Regions from separate parts of the Homo sapiens genome. Here all the other regions are linked to region 1. The links are contacts of gene promoters, found by promoter capture Hi-C in blood cells and fetal thymus (Javierre and others, 2016). All regions are on one chromosome and are shown on one strand. Each heading gives the region's core, a stretch centred on a gene start or on the middle of the fragment in contact. The rest is flanking DNA. Distances are from core to core; before and after follow the strand shown.

Evidence for each region. Contacts are between HindIII fragments. The CHiCAGO score rates a contact against its expected background, and 5 or more counts as called.
Region 2: a contact is called between a fragment that was not itself captured here and the fragment with the promoter of ZFYVE27 in region 1, in 1 of 17 cell types (neutrophils). The highest score is 6.8, in neutrophils.
Region 3: the fragment with the promoter of FRAT1 here is called in contact with the fragment with the promoter of ZFYVE27 in region 1 in 5 of 17 cell types (neutrophils, non-activated CD4 T cells, fetal thymus and 2 more); the score reaches 11.8 in neutrophils.
Region 4: a fragment that was not itself captured here is called in contact with the fragment with the promoter of ZFYVE27 in region 1 in 3 of 17 cell types (naive CD4 T cells, naive CD8 T cells and non-activated CD4 T cells); the score reaches 7.1 in naive CD4 T cells.
Region 5: a contact is called between a fragment that was not itself captured here and the fragment with the promoter of ZFYVE27 in region 1, in 1 of 17 cell types (M2 macrophages). The highest score is 5.3, in M2 macrophages.
Region 6: the fragment with the promoter of EXOSC1 here is called in contact with the fragment with the promoter of ZFYVE27 in region 1 in 3 of 17 cell types (neutrophils, naive CD4 T cells and naive CD8 T cells); the score reaches 6.3 in neutrophils.

The regions. Positions count from the first base shown.
Region 1 is chr10:97,735,540-97,738,399 of GRCh38, reverse strand. ZFYVE27 (zinc finger FYVE-type containing 27) reads right to left here and starts at 1,272. Exons shown (of 13, transcript NM_001385875.1): 1 at 1,079-1,272. RefSeq lists a silencer at 1,007-1,076 and an enhancer at 1,407-1,556. The HindIII fragment of the contact is 3,622 bases long and covers 1-1,942 here.
Region 2 is chr10:97,282,319-97,285,178 of GRCh38, reverse strand. All of the region lies in intron 1 of ARHGAP19 (Rho GTPase activating protein 19), which reads left to right. All of the region lies in intron 1 of ARHGAP19-SLIT1 (ARHGAP19-SLIT1 readthrough (NMD candidate)), which reads left to right. Among named protein-coding and RNA genes, the nearest start is that of ARHGAP19, 8.9 kb to the left of the region's middle. The HindIII fragment of the contact is 3,036 bases long and covers 1-2,860 here.
Region 3 is chr10:97,317,796-97,320,655 of GRCh38, reverse strand. FRAT1 (FRAT regulator of Wnt signaling pathway 1) reads right to left here and starts at 1,385. Exons shown (of 1, transcript NM_005479.4): 1 at 1-1,385. The coding sequence starts at 1,202. The coding sequence ends at 363. RefSeq lists enhancers at 1-160, 1,250-1,544, 1,282-2,071 and silencers at 501-600, 1,101-1,410. The HindIII fragment of the contact is 4,234 bases long and covers 515-2,860 here.
Region 4 is chr10:97,404,824-97,407,683 of GRCh38, reverse strand. No RefSeq gene overlaps it. Among named protein-coding and RNA genes, the nearest start is that of RRP12, 4.9 kb to the right of the region's middle. The HindIII fragment of the contact is 7,850 bases long and covers 1-2,860 here.
Region 5 is chr10:98,047,967-98,050,826 of GRCh38, reverse strand. No RefSeq gene overlaps it. Among named protein-coding and RNA genes, the nearest start is that of CRTAC1, 19 kb to the right of the region's middle. The HindIII fragment of the contact is 1,514 bases long and covers 709-2,222 here.
Region 6 is chr10:97,444,639-97,447,498 of GRCh38, reverse strand. EXOSC1 (exosome component 1) reads left to right here and starts at 1,493. Exons shown (of 8, transcript NM_016046.5): 1 at 1,493-1,544; 2 at 1,652-1,767. The coding sequence starts at 1,514. ZDHHC16 (zDHHC palmitoyltransferase 16) reads right to left here and starts at 1,324. Exons shown (of 12, transcript NM_198046.3): 1 at 1,146-1,324. RefSeq lists a silencer at 1,063-1,272 and enhancers at 1,204-1,783, 1,784-2,364. The HindIII fragment of the contact is 1,823 bases long and covers 414-2,236 here.

The DNA of each region.
Region 1 (2,860 bases), core at 23-2,522:
GCCAACAGTAAACCTGTGAGCAAGGGAAAGTGAACTATTCAGACCTAAAATCCTGTTCTTTGTACTCTCCATCCAATGCTCTTTTCCCCAAAGATCCATCAAAACTAAAAATCATAAAAACCAAGCATAAATGATCGCTGCAGCGAGGCAGCCCATGGGCTGAAATGAAATGATGTCCTGGAACATTTTTCTCCCACTCTTTACCTGGTTAATTCCTACTCATCCTTCAGGTATCAGCTTAAACATCACTCCCTTACTCTGGGAAGTCTCTGCCAACACCCCCAACTCTGGACTGGGAGACCCTCTCCGATGCTCCCAAAGGATCACGTACTCACCCTAACAGAGCACTTATCACATCACATCGCTTCTTGGCCTTGTGGCTAAGATCAAGTGCAGAGCACTGACCACGTCAAAGTAAAACTCCCTGCTCTTAACTGGCCTCCATTCACGACTGCTTCTGTACACAGTGGGTGCTTAACAAATGCCTGCTGAATGAGTGAATGAAATACCGTGCTCCAGGACTCTCGCCCGATCCTCTAACTCTTCCCACTCCCTTCGGTTCCCAACAACTTCCTGGGCCATCTCTGCCCCAGGGCAGTCGGCATCAGAACGCCCCATTCCCGTCTGCCCTTTCTGATGAGGAAACCGAGGAGCCTTTACGGTCTTTCCCAGTTCAAAGTCCTATCCTGAACTCTAAGCAGCAAACGAGGGGGCGGAACCTCGGCGAAGAGCAACATAAACCAGTCCCAGGCAATCAGCCGCGACCTGATGGGAGGGTGAGGGGATGGGACAAAGGGGCCAACGGGACCCCGAAATCCCCGCAGGCCGAGCCAAGGCGAAAGGGCACAGAGCGGCGCCAGGTATGAGCCCAGGAAGGGGCGAGGTATATCGACGCCCGCACTGGCCTTGGCCAACACCTCTGCAGCCAGGGGGGCCTGATGGAGCCCGTGAGGCTGGACAGGGAAGGCCATGCCCGAGGTCGTGGGGCCAGCATGTGGCGGCCCCCGCTGCGCCCAAGCACCCAACTACACACAGCCTGCGGAGACACTGGGACGCGGGGGGACGGCACCTCACCTACCCGGCCGCTGGCTCCGTGAGGGAGGCGGCAGGGTCGGGCAGGAGCAGGGGTAGAGCCACTGGGCCCCGGAGCGTTTCTTCAGGCCTCCCCCGGCTGAACGCCGCTCCTCCTGCCAGGGTTGTTCGGAAGTCGCAGGTCCGAAAATCTCCTCCGCCTACGCCGCGGCCGCCACCGCCGCTTCCGGGACGCGAATCGCTCTGCGGCTGCGTCCTCATGACGTCATCCCGCTCCGGGTTTAGCTCCGCCCACCCCAGCACAGGCAAGCACCCTTGCCAGCAGTGCGCCTGCGCGTCTTTCCCGCGCGCTCCAGGCTGGAGTTAATTCTGTCCTTGGCCGGCCGCCGTTCACAAAGCCTTGAGGACCCTTGGAAGCACGTGCTTGGCGACCCTGCAGCTCGTTGCCCTGCCTTGCCGCAGGGAACAGTTGGCGAGAGGCTTAAATGAAGAATTTACGTCTTCATCCTCTTTCCTTCCAACTTTGGAACTGAACTGGGGACTGTGTGTGAGCCCCGGAAAGACACCGTATCCTGTATGAGATGCCCAGCAGAGCATGCAGTTGTTTCCGGAGTAGCTAGTGTGTACAAGGTCCTGTGCAGGCCTCTCCCAGCTCAGTTCACTTCACACCGTGTGGCCCAGTTAATTTCCCTTAAAGCACACATCCGATGGCTTTATATTAGTGACTTAGCGCTCAGGTACAGAGGAGCCAAGCACTGAACCGGACTGAGCTCTTTTTAGACATTATCTAGTTCTCCTCCAACGACCCTATTAGGGTTGTCGCCATTTTACAGATGGGGAATCTCAGACGTGTTAAGGAACTTCTTTAGAGTCACAGCTAAGAAGCAAATGGGAGCTGGAATTTGAAGCTTATGTGTCATCTGACCCCAACGCCCCAACCATACCACCACCCACCTTGGTCTGCATTTCCTGGTCTTGTCTCCTGCCATCTTTCAGCTGCCTTTAACTTTGGCCAACTGAACCCCTCCACTGTTACCCTCAAATGCCCCTGGCACTCAAATGTCTGTATCCCTTCCTTGAGTGCCCCAGCTGGAAGTAATCACTTCCCTCTTCAAGTAGCCACAGAGCTTTAACTGCATCTCTTCCTCCATTATCTCCTTTCAGAAAGACAGGCCCATCCCTCCAGCCAGGACTTAGCTGTGCTCCAGGGTCCAACTCTTATTTCCTTAGGGCTTTGCTCTAACAGGCCTGAAATCTTGACTCTCGCTAACTCTTAATCATCATTCTAGAGACAAAATTCATGGAAAATTTCTCCTTTAGCCTAACTTTACCCCCTCTTTCCTACATGAGTTGGAAGACTCACTGTGAAGTGCTCTCTACCGCTGCTTCCTCGCCCAATTCACTCCTCACTGCACTGTGGTCCTGCTCCCCTCCATATTTCTGGGCTACCTGCCTGCTCACCTGTGACATCCTGGCTGCTAAATCCAATGGACACTTCCCAGTCCTCCTTGCAGATGACCTCAGAAGCACTGGAATCTCTTTCCTTTTTGGCACCATTGTCCACCTTAGCTTCCATGACACCACCCTCTCCTCTCTTTCCGACCTTCAAGGTCTCCTTAGGGCTTTTCTTCCTACCCCTCAAATGCTGGGGCTCCTTTTGCTACCCTTCTTTCTTCTGACTCAAGGCACTCCGTGAGGATCTCATTCACTCTTGTGGCTTCTGTCAGCTAATGTTTCGTTTCCCGTGTCTATGTCTCCAGCACCTAAAGCAGTACCTGGCACATAGTAGGCATTCTGTTAAGAAGGGTTGCAAGATGTTACCATTGGG
Region 2 (2,860 bases), core at 265-2,764, 450 kb after region 1:
GAGTATATACTTTCGGCCTTGCACAGTGTCTCATGCCTGTAATCCCAGCACTTTGGGAGGCGGAGGCGGGCGGATCACCTGAGGTCAGGAGTTTAAGACCAGCCTGGCCAGCATGGTGAAACCCCGTCTCTACTAAAAATACAAAAAATTAGCTGGGTGCAGTGGCATGCACCTGTAATCGCAGCTACTTGGGAGGCTGAGGTAGGAGAATCGCTTGAACCTGGGAGGCGGAGGTTGTGGTGAGCTAAGATCACACCATTGCACTCCAGCCTGGGCGACACAGCGAGACTCAGTCTCACAGGAAAAAAAAAAAAAAAAAAAAAGTATATGCTTTTTTTTCTTTCTTTCTTTTTTGTTAAGAGTATATAGTTTGGCTAAAAGTGGTGGCTCTCATCTGTAATCCTACCACTTTGGGAGGCTGAGGTGGTAGGATCACTTGAGCCCAGGAGTTTGAGACCAGCCTGGGCAACCTAGCAAGACATTGTCTCTACTAAAAATAAAAATAGTTAGCCAGGCGTGGTGGCACATGCCTCTGGTCTCAGCTGCTAGGAAGGCCGAGGCAGGAGGATTGCTTGAGCCTGGGAGGTCAAGGATGCACTGAACCGTGAGTATGCCACCATTCTAGCATGGGCAATAGAACAAGACCTTGCCTCAAAAAACCCCCAGTATATACTTTTTTCCCCTCTTCCCCACTATGAAATAAACTTATATAATATTTACTACAGAAGGCTAGAAAAATATGTAGAAAAAAATGGGGGCTGGTCTGAGTGTCTCACGCCTATAATCCCAGCACTTTGGGAGGCCAAGGTGGGCAGAACACTTGAGGTCAGTAGTTCGAGACCAGCCTGGCCAACATGGTGAAACCCTGTCTCTACTAAAAAGACAAAAATTAGCTGGGCATGGTGTCGCACATCTGTAATCCCAGCTACTTAAGAGGCTGAGGCAAGAGAATCGCTTGAACCTGGGAGGCAGAAGTTGCAGTGAGCCAAGATTGCACCACTGTACTCCAGCTTGGGCAACAGAGTGAGACAATGTCTCAAAAACAAAAAGCAAAAAATACAAATAAAAATAAGAGAAAAAAGCTAGGTGTGGTGGTGTGCACCTGTAGTCCCAGCTACTGGGGAGGATGAGGTGGGAAGATTGCTTGAACCTAGGAGCTTAAGGCTGCAGTGAGCTATGATGACACCACTGTGCTCCAGCCTGGGTGCCAGAGTGAGACCCTGTCTCTAAAAAAAAGAAAAAAAAAGGAAAGAAAAATATGTAGAAAAATGGTAAACTAGCCACTCCAATTTACCAGATAGATACAACCATTATTAATATTGAGACAGTTTTTTTTTTTTTTTTTTTAATAGAGATGAAGTTTCACTATGTTGTCTAGGCGGTCTCAAACTCTTGGGCTCATGTACTCCTCCCACCTTGGCAACCCAAAGTGCTGGGATTACAGGTGTGAGCCACCATGTCTGGTTCCTTCTGAGTCTTAAACTGTAATGCCTCTTATCTAAAATATGACCCATCCAAGATCTGATTTCTATCTTGGTTTCCCAGTTTCCTCCCAATAAGTGCATCATTTCTGGTTGGAAACAGTATAGCAAAAGAGTGATTGAAATACAATTTTTTTTTTTTTTGAGACAGAGTCTCACTCTGTTGCCCAGGCCGGAGTGCAGTGGCATGATCTCAGCTTGCTGCAGCCTCCGTCTCCTGGGTTCAAGCAGTTCTCCTGCCTCGGCCTCCCGAGTAGCTGGGACTACAGGCATGCGCCACCATGCTGGCTAATTTTTGTATTTTTAGTAGAGACGGGGTATCACCATGTTGGCCAGGTTGGTCTCGAACTCTTGACCTCATGATCCACCCACCTCAGCCTCCTGAAGATGCCCTCTGGTCACCTTCAGTGAACACTCTCACCTACACTTTTACTAACCATCTTTTAGGGTGGGTTGTTTCTACAGATGCTGGAGCCTATTTATTTTGTGCTGATGTTTTGCTACTGTTACCCGATATAAACTAAATTCAGCTAGGCCATAGAAACTACATAGTAACAGCCGGGCGGGTGGCTCACGCCTGTAATCCCAGCACTTTGGGAGGCTGAGGTGGGTGGATTGCCTGAGGTCAGGAGTTCAAGACCAGCCTGGCCAATATGGTGAAACCCCGTCTCTACTAAAAATACAAAAATTAGCCAGGCGTGGTGGCAGACGCCTGTAATCCCAGCTACTTGGGAGGCTGGGGCAGGAGAATCGCTTGAACCTGGGAGGTGGAGGTTGCAGTAAGCCGAGATCGCACCACTGCACTCCAGCCTGGGCGACCAGAGTGAGACTCTGTCTCAAAAAAAAAAAAAAAAAAAAGAAAAAAGAAACTACATAGTACTTTAAACAGAGAACATTTAATAGGTTATAAACTATAACTGGGGATTCGAGTAACAAGGAATTGGCTAGTAAGAAGTAAAGAGATCTCTAAGAAATATAGAAATAGATACAGGAATCAGCTGAGTTAGAATGTACAAGGAAGAGGGTCCCTAGGGCAGAGTTCCAGACCTTGCTGGAGATGGCATGGCCATGGCTGACTGATTGGCAGCCATTGCTCTGAAGGGGAAGATACAGAAGGGAGGGCTCAGATTCATACTGGGACAAACAGACTTACACATTCATATTTGTTAGGATTCTTCAGTTATATGTGATAGAAACTAAAACTAGCTTAAGCAAAAAGAGACTCTATTAATTGGCTCAAGAAACTGAAAAGTCCAGGGGATAAATCAAGTATGGTTTAATCTGTATGGAAAATCTCAAATCTCAGTGTTGTTAGATATCTACCTCTTTACTGTCTTAGATCTGGTTTCCTCTGTATTTGCTTCCTAAGAAGGCAGATT
Region 3 (2,860 bases), core at 136-2,635, 420 kb after region 1:
CCGGAGAAGCGTGGATTGTGGCCACATGGTCGCGGGGCTGGAGGGCACTGAGAGGCTGCGAGGAAATGCAGGCTCCGCGGCCAGGTCGGGTCACGCCAAATAAGGAGTCCTACTGACTTGTACGTTTGAGGTGCGCTCTGTAAAATCTGCCTTAAATAGGGCCAAAGTCCTTCATTCCAAATATTTTGGCCCTCAACCCCAGTTACCCGCGAAACACTCGCGATTTTTCGGTTCCTCGTCATTAGCTTTTTACTCTCGCTTCCAAAAGCCAGAGTTCTCCACCAGCCTGAGTAGAACTGCAGCCCTCAAGGGAACCCCTTGCCCTCCAGTCTGAGGCTGGCGCTGTGGCCACCCCGGGCGTGTTAGCTGCCAGGCACAAGAACGCCGTCGCCAGTTCTGAGCTGCGCCCTCCCGGAGGCGCCAGGGTCACTGCAGGCCGCGCGAGGGCTGCGAGGCGAAGGGGGTTCATGCACCGGGGCCGACAGAGGTCCCAGGAGCGGGCGTTGGGGAAGCTTTGCACGTAACTGCAGCCGTCGCGAATGAAGCCTTCGCACGGCCTCCTTGATGAGGTTTCCAGAGAGCACTAGCTGCTGCAGAAGCCGGTGCGGGTCGTCGTCGCCTGTGCGGGTTTCTGGTTGGGACCCGCGTCGCTGCTGCAGGCGGCGGGAGGCGGCGGCGCCCCGGAGCCATCCTCGCCGGCACGGACCCGACAGCGGCTGCGGGATGCCCTGCTTGCCAGCTCCCGGAGGCCCATCAAGGTCGGCCTGAGGGGGCAGTGGGGACAGCGCGCTGGGGCCTGTGGCGAGCTCGGCCACGCAGTAGGGCGCAGCGCGGCCCCGCACGCGGCCGCGGTCCCCCAGGGCGCAGCGCAGGACCCCAGGGGGCGCCGGGCCCACAGTCTCCGCCAACGCGGGCGGCAGCAGCAGCGGCACCGCCGGGGACCTGGCCTTGTCCGCCGGCACCGCCGCAGCCAGGGGCCCCGGGGCCCGCAGCGGCGCCCCCGGGGGCCCGCACGGCGAGGCCGGGCTGTGCTGCGCCGCGTCCAGCTGCAGCGTCTCGCCGATCTGGGCCACCAGCCGGTCCACCTCGCCCGAGCTGCCCAGCGCCACTGACTGCTGCAGTAGGAGGAAGCTGTCCTCCTCCTCTTCCTCCCCCTCCGCCTCCTCGCCGGCTTCCTCTTCCTCCTCCCTCCGGCACGGCATGGCCCCCTGTCTGGGCACCCGGAGCTGTGCGGGCGTCGCTGGGGGCTCGGCTGCCGGCGGGCGCGGTGGGCCGCGGCGGAGCGGGCGCGGAGCTGAAGACTAAGTCTGGACCGGGGCCGGGGCGGACGCGGAAGCCGGAGCCCGCCAGGCACTCTAGCCGCGCGCCTGCAGCCGCGGGAGCCGGAATCCTGCCGGCTCGGGTTGATTTGTAAACAATGGGTGACGTCACGTCGGGCCCTACCACCGCGCCGGGGAGGGGGTGCTGTGCCGCTGGGGGACGGCGCTTCTGTGGGATTGGGGGTCTGGGTGAAGCCGGACTGCCTTCTGAGCTCCTTCGCTCAGGGTGCTGTCTGCAAGGGCGCCCTGGGGACCTGATCCTGGCTCCCGCAGTCGGGCGCGATTGGCATTTCCAGAAATGGGCACCAGCGTGAACCCTGTTGGTTTCTTCCACACACAAGCAAGCACGCACACTAACACACACCCACCCACCCACACACCCCTTCTCTCCGTGCGTCAACTCAACCGGTTTTTAGCGTTTGCGCTTTTGAGGTCCGGCATGCGGGCGTCTGGTGAGGATGGAAAGGAAAGGGAGTCAGGCTAGGGATTTGTACGGAGATTAGGGAAATGAAGCTGACGGGAATGGAAAGGAAGAAGGGGACCTTGTCGTTCGATGGAGGTGGCAGAGTTGGAAATGGCAAAGAAAGGCCACAGATTAATGTTTTTTGATCGAGATCCTGGGCGGATGGGGGCCTGGACTGGGGTTGGCATTGCTGGAGAGGAGGTTGCTAGTCTTTTTGTTTATTTGTTTGTTTGTTTTTTTGAGACGGAGTCTCGCTCTATCGCCCAGGCTGGAGTGCAGTGGCTCGATCTCCACTCACTACAACCTCCGCCTCCTGCGTTTAAGCAATTCTCCTGCCTCAGCCTTCCGAGTAGCTGGGATTACAGGCGCCCACCACCACGCCCGGCTAATTTTTGTATTTTTAGTAGAGACGGGGTTTCACCATGTTGGCCAGGCTGGTCTCGAACTCCTGACCTCAGGTGATCCACCCGCCTCAGCCTCCCAAAGTGCTGGGATTACAGGCGTGAGCCACTGCGCCCGGCCTAGGTTGCTACTCTTTTTGTTTTGTTTTGTTTTTTTGAGACAGAGTTTCGCTCTTGTTGCCCAGGCTGGAGTACAATGGCGCAATCTCCGCTCACCACAACTTCCGCCTCCTGGGTTCAAGCAGTTCTCCTGCCTCAGCCTCCCGAGTTGCTGGGATTACAGGCATGCGCCGCCATGCCCAGCCTAATTTTGTGTTTTTAGCAGAGATGGGGTTTCTCCATATTGGTCAGGCTGGTCTGGTACTCCCGACCTCAGGTGATCCACCTGCCTCGGCCTCCCAAAATCCTGGGATTACAAGCGTGAGCCACCACGCCTGGCTATAGGTTGTTAGTCTTAAGAGGGGCTATGTCCAGAAAGTTGTTTAAAAAAAAGCCTCAGACCAGTAGGGGGGATGGGCTCTGAGGAGGTACGTAGTAGCAGAGAAAAATACCTGTTTGGATGAAAATGGAGATACGCTTCCTTCCTTCCTTTCTTCCTTTTCTTTCTCTTTCTTTTCTTTCTTTGACAGAATTTCACTCTGTCACCCAGGCTGGAGTGCAGTGGTGTGATCTGGCTG
Region 4 (2,860 bases), core at 159-2,658, 330 kb after region 1:
GGTGGAAGAGATTGTGCTCAGGCCATTTGGATGCCTATCGTCCTCTCTTCTGGTAGAGCACGCCTCCTGGAGGAGGCTCTGAGCAGATGCCTCAGGATGGACGGCCAGCAGGTGACCTAGGGCCCCTCAATGCCCATACCAGGCTGACGATTTAGCCAGGGCTGTATTCAGTTACGACGCAGACTCGGTTTGGAGGCCAGCAGGTTTCTGTAGCCCAGGAAAAGGATGGGACATCTGCCACTACCCTTGGCCTCTGCATCTCCGCATCTGATTTGCAAAATCCCAGTCTACTAGTTGGTATTGCAGGCTCTCTATAGGGTTTTAGCCCTAACAGGTTGTTGGTAGCACTCCCTCTGGTGGCAAAGATGCACCACTGACCCCTCTGTAAAGCACAATACTACACATGTTTTGGAGTTGTCCGTAATTTGACACAGATACACAGTTTCTTTTATTTTTATTTATTTATTTATTTATTTTTGAGACGAAGTCGCACTCTGTTGCCCAGGCTGGGGTACAGTGGCACGATTTTGGCTCACTGCAACCTCTGCCTCCCGGGTTCAAACGATTCTCCTGCCTCAGCCCCCCAAGTAGCTGGGATTACAGGCGTGCACCATAACGCCTGGTTAATTTTTGTATTTTTAGTAGAGACGGGGTTTCGCTATGTTGGCCAGGCTGGTCTCGAACTCCTGACCTCAGGTGATCCACCTGCCTCGGCCTCCCAAAGTACTGGGATTACAGATGTAAGCTACCATGCCCAGCCACAGATACACAGTTTCATACTGAATCCTCACAGCAGCCCAGTGGGTTCAGAATTATTATCACAACTTTCAGCCAGGCACAGTGGTTCACACCTGGAATCCCAGCACTTTGGGAGGCCAAGGTGGGTGGATCACTTGAGGTCAGGAGTTTGAGAACAGCCTGGCCAACATGATGAAACCCCATCTCTACTAAAATTACAAAAAGTCATCTGGGCGTGGTGGCACATGCTTGTAATCCCAGCTACTTGGGAGCCTGAGGCAGGAGAATCGCTTGAACCCAGGCGGTGGAGGTTGCAGTGAGTCAAGATCGCGCCTCCGCACTCCAGCCTGAGCAATAGAGTGAGACTCCATCTCAGAAAAAAAAAAAGTAATTATTATCGTAACTTTAAATAATATGACACATTAGAATGTGTAAAAAAAATGTATAAATAAATAAATAAAGGGAAAAAAAGAACAAGAATCGGAGACTTAGAGAGGTTAAATCCCTTGCTTGGTTTATAGGTAAAGTATGTCCTGTCTTGAACCCACCACTTTACCTGCCTTCTTTCAGCAATTACCCCAAGTCTAGACCTCTGGTTGTGAGCACAGCTCGCTTATAACAGTTTCCACATTCTGCTTCCTTTTCCTCCCCCAGCCACCAGTTCCCTTTTCTCAGCCTTCCCACTGAGGTCTCAGCCTGTGACCCAGGCACAGGGCCCCACTGGAGGATGATAATGTCTTCAGAGACTTGGAAGGGCTGGGGCCTAGAGTCTGAACTGACTTCAGTCTTCTCTGCAGCGACGCTTTCTCACATTAACACACTTTATGCTCTCTCTGCTCTAGGTGAGAGGACCACTTTTTTTTGTTGTTTTTTGAGACAGAGTCTCACTCTGTCACCCAGGCTAGAGTGCAGTGGCTTAATCTCGAGTCACTGCAACCTCCGCCTCCCGGGTTCAAGCGATCCTCCCACCTCAGCCTCCGAGTAGCTGGGACTACAGGTGTCTGCCATCATGCCTGGCTAATTGTCATATTTTTTGTAGAGACGGGGTTTCACCATATTGCTCAGGCTGGTCTCGAACTCCTGGGCTCAAGTTATCTGCCTGCCTCAGCCACCCAGAGTGTTGGCATTACAGGCGTAAGCCACCGCCCCCGGCCCACTTTGTATTTTCAGTAAGCCCATGAAGTGTAATATACATGTAAGCAGGGCATGGTGGCTCACGCCTATAATCCCAGCACTTTGGGAGGCCAAGGCGAGCAGATCACTTGAAGCCAGGAGATCGAGATTTGTCTGGGCAACGATAGCAAGATTCTGTCTCTTTTTTTTTTTTTTGGAGAAGGAGTCTCGTTCTGCTGCCCAGGCTGGAGTGCAGTGGTACGATCTCAGCTCATTGCAACTTCCGCCTCCTGGGTTCACGCCATTCTCCTGCCTCAGCCTCCCGAGTAGCTGGGACTACAGGTGCCCGCCACCACGCCCAGCTAATTTTTTATATTTTTAGTAGAGACAGGGTTTCATTGTGTTAGCCAGGATGGTCTCGATCTCCTGACCTTGTGATCTGCCCGCCTCGGCCTCCCAGAGTGCTGAGATTACAGGCGTGAGCCACCGCGCCTGGCCAAGACTCTGTCTCTTAAAAAAAAAATTAGCTTGGTGTGGTGGGTATGTGTCTGTAGCCCCAGCTATTTGGGAGGCCAAAGCAGGAGGATGACTTGAATTCAGGAGTTTAAGGTTATAGTGAGCCATGATCATGCCACTGGACTCCAGCCTGGGTGACAGAGTGAGGCCCTAGCTTTAAAAAAAAAAAAAAATTAGCCAGGCATGGCAATGCATGCCTGTGGTTCCAGCTACTCGGGAGGCAGAAGTGGGAGGATTGCTTGAGCCTGGAGGTCAAGGCTGCAGTGAGCCATGATTGTGCCACTGCATTTCAACCTGAGTGACAGAGGAAGACTCTGTCTCAAAATAAATAAATAAATAATTAAATCATAAATAAATGGGATTATAACTATGTACTCTTGTGTCTGGAGTCTTTTACTCAACCTAGGTCATGCATGATATATGTAGCAGTAGTTCCTTCTCATTGCTATACAGAGTCAAATACTATAGTATTCCATTATATATCAATATGTCA
Region 5 (2,860 bases), core at 216-2,715, 310 kb before region 1:
CAGTGCTAAAATCAGGACAGTTCCAGGCAGACTGGGATGGCCAGCTAGTAGTAGTAGTAATTGCAGCAGTGGAGGTGATCTAATAATTAGCCGACGCTTTATATTCTACATCTATTCTGTGTATGCGTTATTCACTTTTAAGCTACCTCATTCCCAAAGTGGGATGTTTTTGCCCTTAGACATATACAGTGCTTTACAGATACAAAGCATTTTCACAAACACATCTGCCCCACGACTTGAGCAAGTTCTTCTCTAGCCAAACTCAAGCCTGGCCGATTTTACTCTGAAGGCCAGTGTGGACTCAGCCAGCTGAAGGGAGTCCTCTCCTGCCAAGGCCCATGGCCCTCAGGAACCCTGGCTCCCTCACTGTGAGCCAAGTGGATGCCCAAAGCTCCACCCCTGGAGCTTCTGATTCCTGTGAGCTGGGGCGAGGCCTGGGCTTTGGCAGGGTTCAGAAACTTTCCAGGGGATTCTGAGAACGGACAGTGTGCAAAGTGCCCAACAATAGCTCTACCGGCTGCTGCTTAGGTCAATTTGCTGTAAGTTTTCATTTTGGTACAATGTTAATCTTACAGAAAACTTTCAAGAACTGTACAAAAGAACTCTTGTATTCCCTTTACACCAATCCACCAATGGTTCTCATCTTAACCATTTGCTTAATAATTTTCTTGTGTTTATTTTTATCTAAAAAAAAACATGAAGTAAGCTTTCCTAGTGGGTATGATACAGACTGATAGCAGGACATATATAATATATATTATATAACAAATGCATACATATATTGGGAGACATCCATATATTTGGTGCCCAGCGAATGCACATTGACAGAGATGTGCCACCATAACCTTTGGTGGCAAATTTCATGATCATTTGGAGATGGAGATAAAGGAGGATTGACTGGGACGAGGGACAGAAAAGAAGTTTTGGGGGTGATGAAAACATTCTATATCCCGATTGCGGTTGTGGTTACACAAATGCATACATTTACCAAAACTAATTTGTCTGAATGTACAATTACAATAGGTACATATTATTACATATGATTGCATATAATTTATAATTTGATAAAGTTGATTTTTTAAAAATGTAACTTTTTTTGAAGTGTAGTGGCTTGTTCTAAAGAATCCAGCAGAGGAAAACTGATGCCTGAGGAAGTATGGATTTTATGCCCTGAATTATCATACATTTGTATGGCATTTATTATATGTCAGGCTCTGTTCTAAGCATTTTGCAAGAACGAACTCATGTAATTCTCACAAGCCTATGGTGTAAAGGCATCACAGGCCCCACTTTAGAGATCAGGAAGAGAGGTTAGCTATTGGCCCAAGGTGGCACAGCCAGGAAGTAGAACAACATGACTCTAAACCCTAGCAGGGAGGCACCAGTGCCCCTGCTCTCAGGCACTATGCTAAGTTAGTTCTTTCCATGATAGCCAGAGACCAGGCTCTGCCTTACCGTGCACCACTGCCCCATGGCAGAAGAGCCCCCTGAACTCCAGGGACCAGCCAGTGGACAGAGGGAAGCTGACTGTCCTTGAGGCCTCGCTGTTGAGTACCCAGACCACCAGACTCTCCTCTGCTTCCTGCTTCCCTCCATCCTTGACTCACCAGCTCTGCCAGTCCATCTCTGGAGCTTTCCAACTGCCCAATTTTAGGAGGCATCCAGAGGTGCCATATAGCCTCGCACTGGAAACAGAGTTGGTTGTCTGAACCACTCTGTCTGTCCCTGAGAGATATTAACAGAAAATAAATATCAGCATGTGACATCCTGAAGTTCTGTGTTCCCGGGAGCCAGTACTGGTTTCCTCATATTCCATGTGCTTCCTGTAAGTCAGGGGTCTGTGGCGGGAGAGCACGGAACCAGATCTCAGGCATGGACTTTGCTACTGATTTGCTGTGAGATGTAGGGCTTCTCTTCCCTTCTCTGAGTCTCAGATTTCTCACCCCAAATAATGGGAGGTTAGCCCAGATGTGAGGTTCTTGGCCTGTGGATTGCTAGGAAGTCCACAAATAGGCTTCAAATGTTCTAGGAATCCCCAGCATTTGTATGCATAGTGTTTTGTGTATTTAGATAAAGGAGTCCATATCTCATTTGATTTTCAAAGGGATCACTTTCCCTCTAAAATTTCACATCACTTGCCTGCCAAAGTCTTTTCTAGTTCTAAAATTTGAAGACTTTATGTCTTAATCTAAGTCTTTGCATTGCATATCAGCCTGGAAGCTTCATTTACAGAGAATGGCAAAGGAGACCCAAGGCATCAGTGTTAGAGTCAGAGCTAGCACGTGGTGTCTCCTGACTTATTCATTTATTCAGCATATATCCATTGTAATAAGCATATTTCATTCGAATGATAACTTTTGACCATAGTCCCACATGTGCCAAGAGCCTCTACAATGACCCAGGGCCTAACACAGGACCTAGTGCATAGTAGGAACTCTATAAATATTTGATGAATAAAATAATAATTAGGGTGAGGGCCTTAGGCCTGTAATCCTACCATTTTGGGAGGCTGAGGTGGGCAGATCACTTGAGCCTGGGAGTTTGAGACCAGACTGGCCAACATGGTGAAGCTCCCTCTCTACAAAAAGTCCAAAAAAAAAAAAATAGCTGGGCATGGTGGTGCATGCCTGTAGTCCCAGCTACTCAGGAGGCTGAGATGGGAGGATCACCTGAGCCCAGGCAGGTCAAGGCTGCAGTGAGCTGTGATCACGCCACTGCACTCCAGCAAAGGTGACAGAGCAAGACCATGTCTCAAATAATAAAAATGATGAATTGGGAAGCCAACTAATTGTGGGAGTGGAAATAGAGGAGGAAAGGCAGAACCCCAAATCAGGAGATCCAACTTTTATTTTCATCTTGG
Region 6 (2,860 bases), core at 244-2,743, 290 kb after region 1:
TGATCCTTCAGTAATAGTCACAGGCCATACTGGTCATCTGCCACCAGACTGGAGGAGATTGCTGGCCACAACACTCCCCTCTTCCCATGGCTTTAAGTCACATCTGTTTCCCAATGGGAAAGTCGACTGAGGGGACAGGGAAGGACAGACGGCAAAGCCATCAGAAGTCAGGTGAACTGAGATCAAAGTCGTGGCGAATGTCATCTGGACAAAGACGCTGCTCTCAGGATGTTTGCAATCTCAAGTAGGAGATACCCAACATCAATAAAGAGTAGCATTTTATTCATGTGCAGACCTCCCTTCTGGGCTAACACGCTGAGAAGAAAAAGAGTAACAACTTTATTTTGGGGCTGCTTATCTTTTGATGACGGGCCCACACAACCAGAGTTCGGCTTTTTCAACCAGAGAAAGCTTACTGAAGTGGGGATGAGGGGCCGCGAAGAGGATCGGACCGCAGGACTGGAAGCTGCAGTTTAAAAAACCGGGAAAAGGCCGGAGGCAGTGGCTCATGCCTGTACTCCCTGCACTTTGGAAGGCCGAGGCGGGCGGATCAAGAGATCAAGACCATCCTGGCTAACATGGTGAAACCCCGTCACTACTAAAACTACAAAAATTAGCTGGGCGTGGTGGCGCGCGCCTGTAAGTCCCAGCTGCGCGGGAGGCTGAGGCAGGAGAATCGCTTGATGCCGGGAGGCGGAGGTTGCAGTGAACAGAGATCGCTCCACTGCACTCCAGCCTGGCGACAGAGCGAGACTCCTCAAAAACAAAACAAAAAAACCGGGAAAAGGTTTTATTTCTCAATGACAGCCGCGAGGTGAAACTGCGATGGACTGGAAGTCAAAAACCGTGGGTTCCAGTTTGGGCTCTATCTTAACTATCTTGATCATTTTGGACAAGTCAAACCCTGTCTCTGAATCTGAGGTTCCATATCTGTGAAACAGACGAGTTGGGTCGCTTGACCTCCTTCCCTCCTGCTCTGAGCGTAACGATTGCTCGGAAGGTGCGCTCGGGCTGAGGAGGGCACGGCCCCGCAGGGCGGGGCGAGGAGAGAGCAGGAACCCGCACTCAAGACAAGGCCCCAGGGCAGTGCCCTACCCAGAAAAAGGGACTAGGATGGGGAGCAAGGGCCGAGGCTTCGCCCTTACCTGCCGCCTGCCGACTCCCCAGTCAGCCAAACCGAGCCCCGTAGCCTCTGCCGCCGCTCACTGCCACCCCCTCCGACTCGGCGCCCCGGCCGGGCCCGGCTCAATCCAAACCACCATGGCCCGCCGCCCGCAGCGCCAGGCAGCGGACCCGGACCCGCCGCCAGCCCATCCTCAACCACACGCGCAGGCGCCAGCGTGGACCTCTGAAGTTCCGCCCCCGGATTTGTCCCGGGGTAACCTGGGAAATGGAGTTTACTCGCAAGGATAAAGAGTACCAATTGACACGTGTCTTACTGCGGAACTGTGCCTGGGTTTGGCCAATGAGAAATCGACTTCGTTTTCATCCTGGTTTTGGGACAGCGGCAATCATGGCGCCACCTGTGAGATACTGCATCCCCGGTAAGTGAGCGCTTCCCGTACAGAGTCCTGGATAGGGGCTGAAGCAAGAAGGCTAAACGGCCTACAGCTTCTGGGGGCCCGTGACCGATGCAGCATTTTTTCTGCAGGCGAACGTCTGTGTAACTTGGAGGAGGGCAGCCCGGGCAGCGGCACCTACACCCGCCACGGCTACATCTTTTCGTCGCTTGCCGGCTGTCTGATGAAGAGCAGCGAGAATGGCGCGGTAAAGGAAGCGGCATGCCATCTCCCCTCTGTTTTTCCCTTAGGCTGCCCTTGAGTTCCAGTCCTTAGGCATGGGCACTGCGGACGCGTCTTTAGTGCCTCAGTGGTACAATGTTGGTCTCTTAGTTTCTTCTAGCCGTATCGCCGCTGTGGTGCACTTAGCCACCACACACTAGTTGTGTTGATCTCGCTTGGTTGTGCTGCTGACCCTCGGGGAGGGAAGTTGGGACAAAAGCAGATGCGAACTCAGTATCCCATCCCAGCCCAGCTCAGCCCAGCAGTGAGTTGCATACTGTATGAATGTTGCTTACCTTTCCGACTTTATCTAGCGCCACTATCTCCACCTCACTGACGCAATCTAGTCATACTGTCTTTTCTGTGTTTAAAAGTTATAATCACAGTCTCTGCTTGCCCTTTAAAAATTTTTTATAACATACTAGCTTCTTTCAGTGTCGGTAATGCGCCAAGCTTTCTCCTGCTACAGAGCCTTTGTAACATGCCATCTATCTGGAACGCTTCTATCTTCCTAGGCCTATTTAATTCCTACCTCCTTTAGATAGCTTCTCTACTATCACCTCAGAGAAGTCCTTCTGGACCCACTAATTGAGGAAAGGAGTTTTGTGGGGTGTTTTGTTTTTGTTTGTTTTGTTAAAGACTCACAAAAAACTCTGTTCCTTTTCTTCCAAGCACTATGTCAGCATATGATGAGACACTCAGGTATATGTTTCCTACTAGACTTCTCCCCTGCTTAAATCTAAGTCCGTGAAAGCAGGCCCTACCACCATACCATCCGTATATAGCACAAGGCAGCTCCTCAATAAATGTTGAATGTGTGAGTAATACCTACCTTTCTAGTTTCAGAGATAGATCCAGGATTAGCTCAGGATCATATAAGCAATATTTGAAGGAGCACAATAGAAAGAGGATTCAGAATTAGAACAGTTACGTTCTGGCTAACTTGACTTTGATTCTGCTTTGAGTAAGTAACTTAAGCTGTCTGATTCAAGGGGCTTTCTATTCAGTCATTGTTGGGAATGTTCTTAACAGTCCTGAGTTTGTTCATTTCATAGATATCACTTGAGTATTTTCATGTG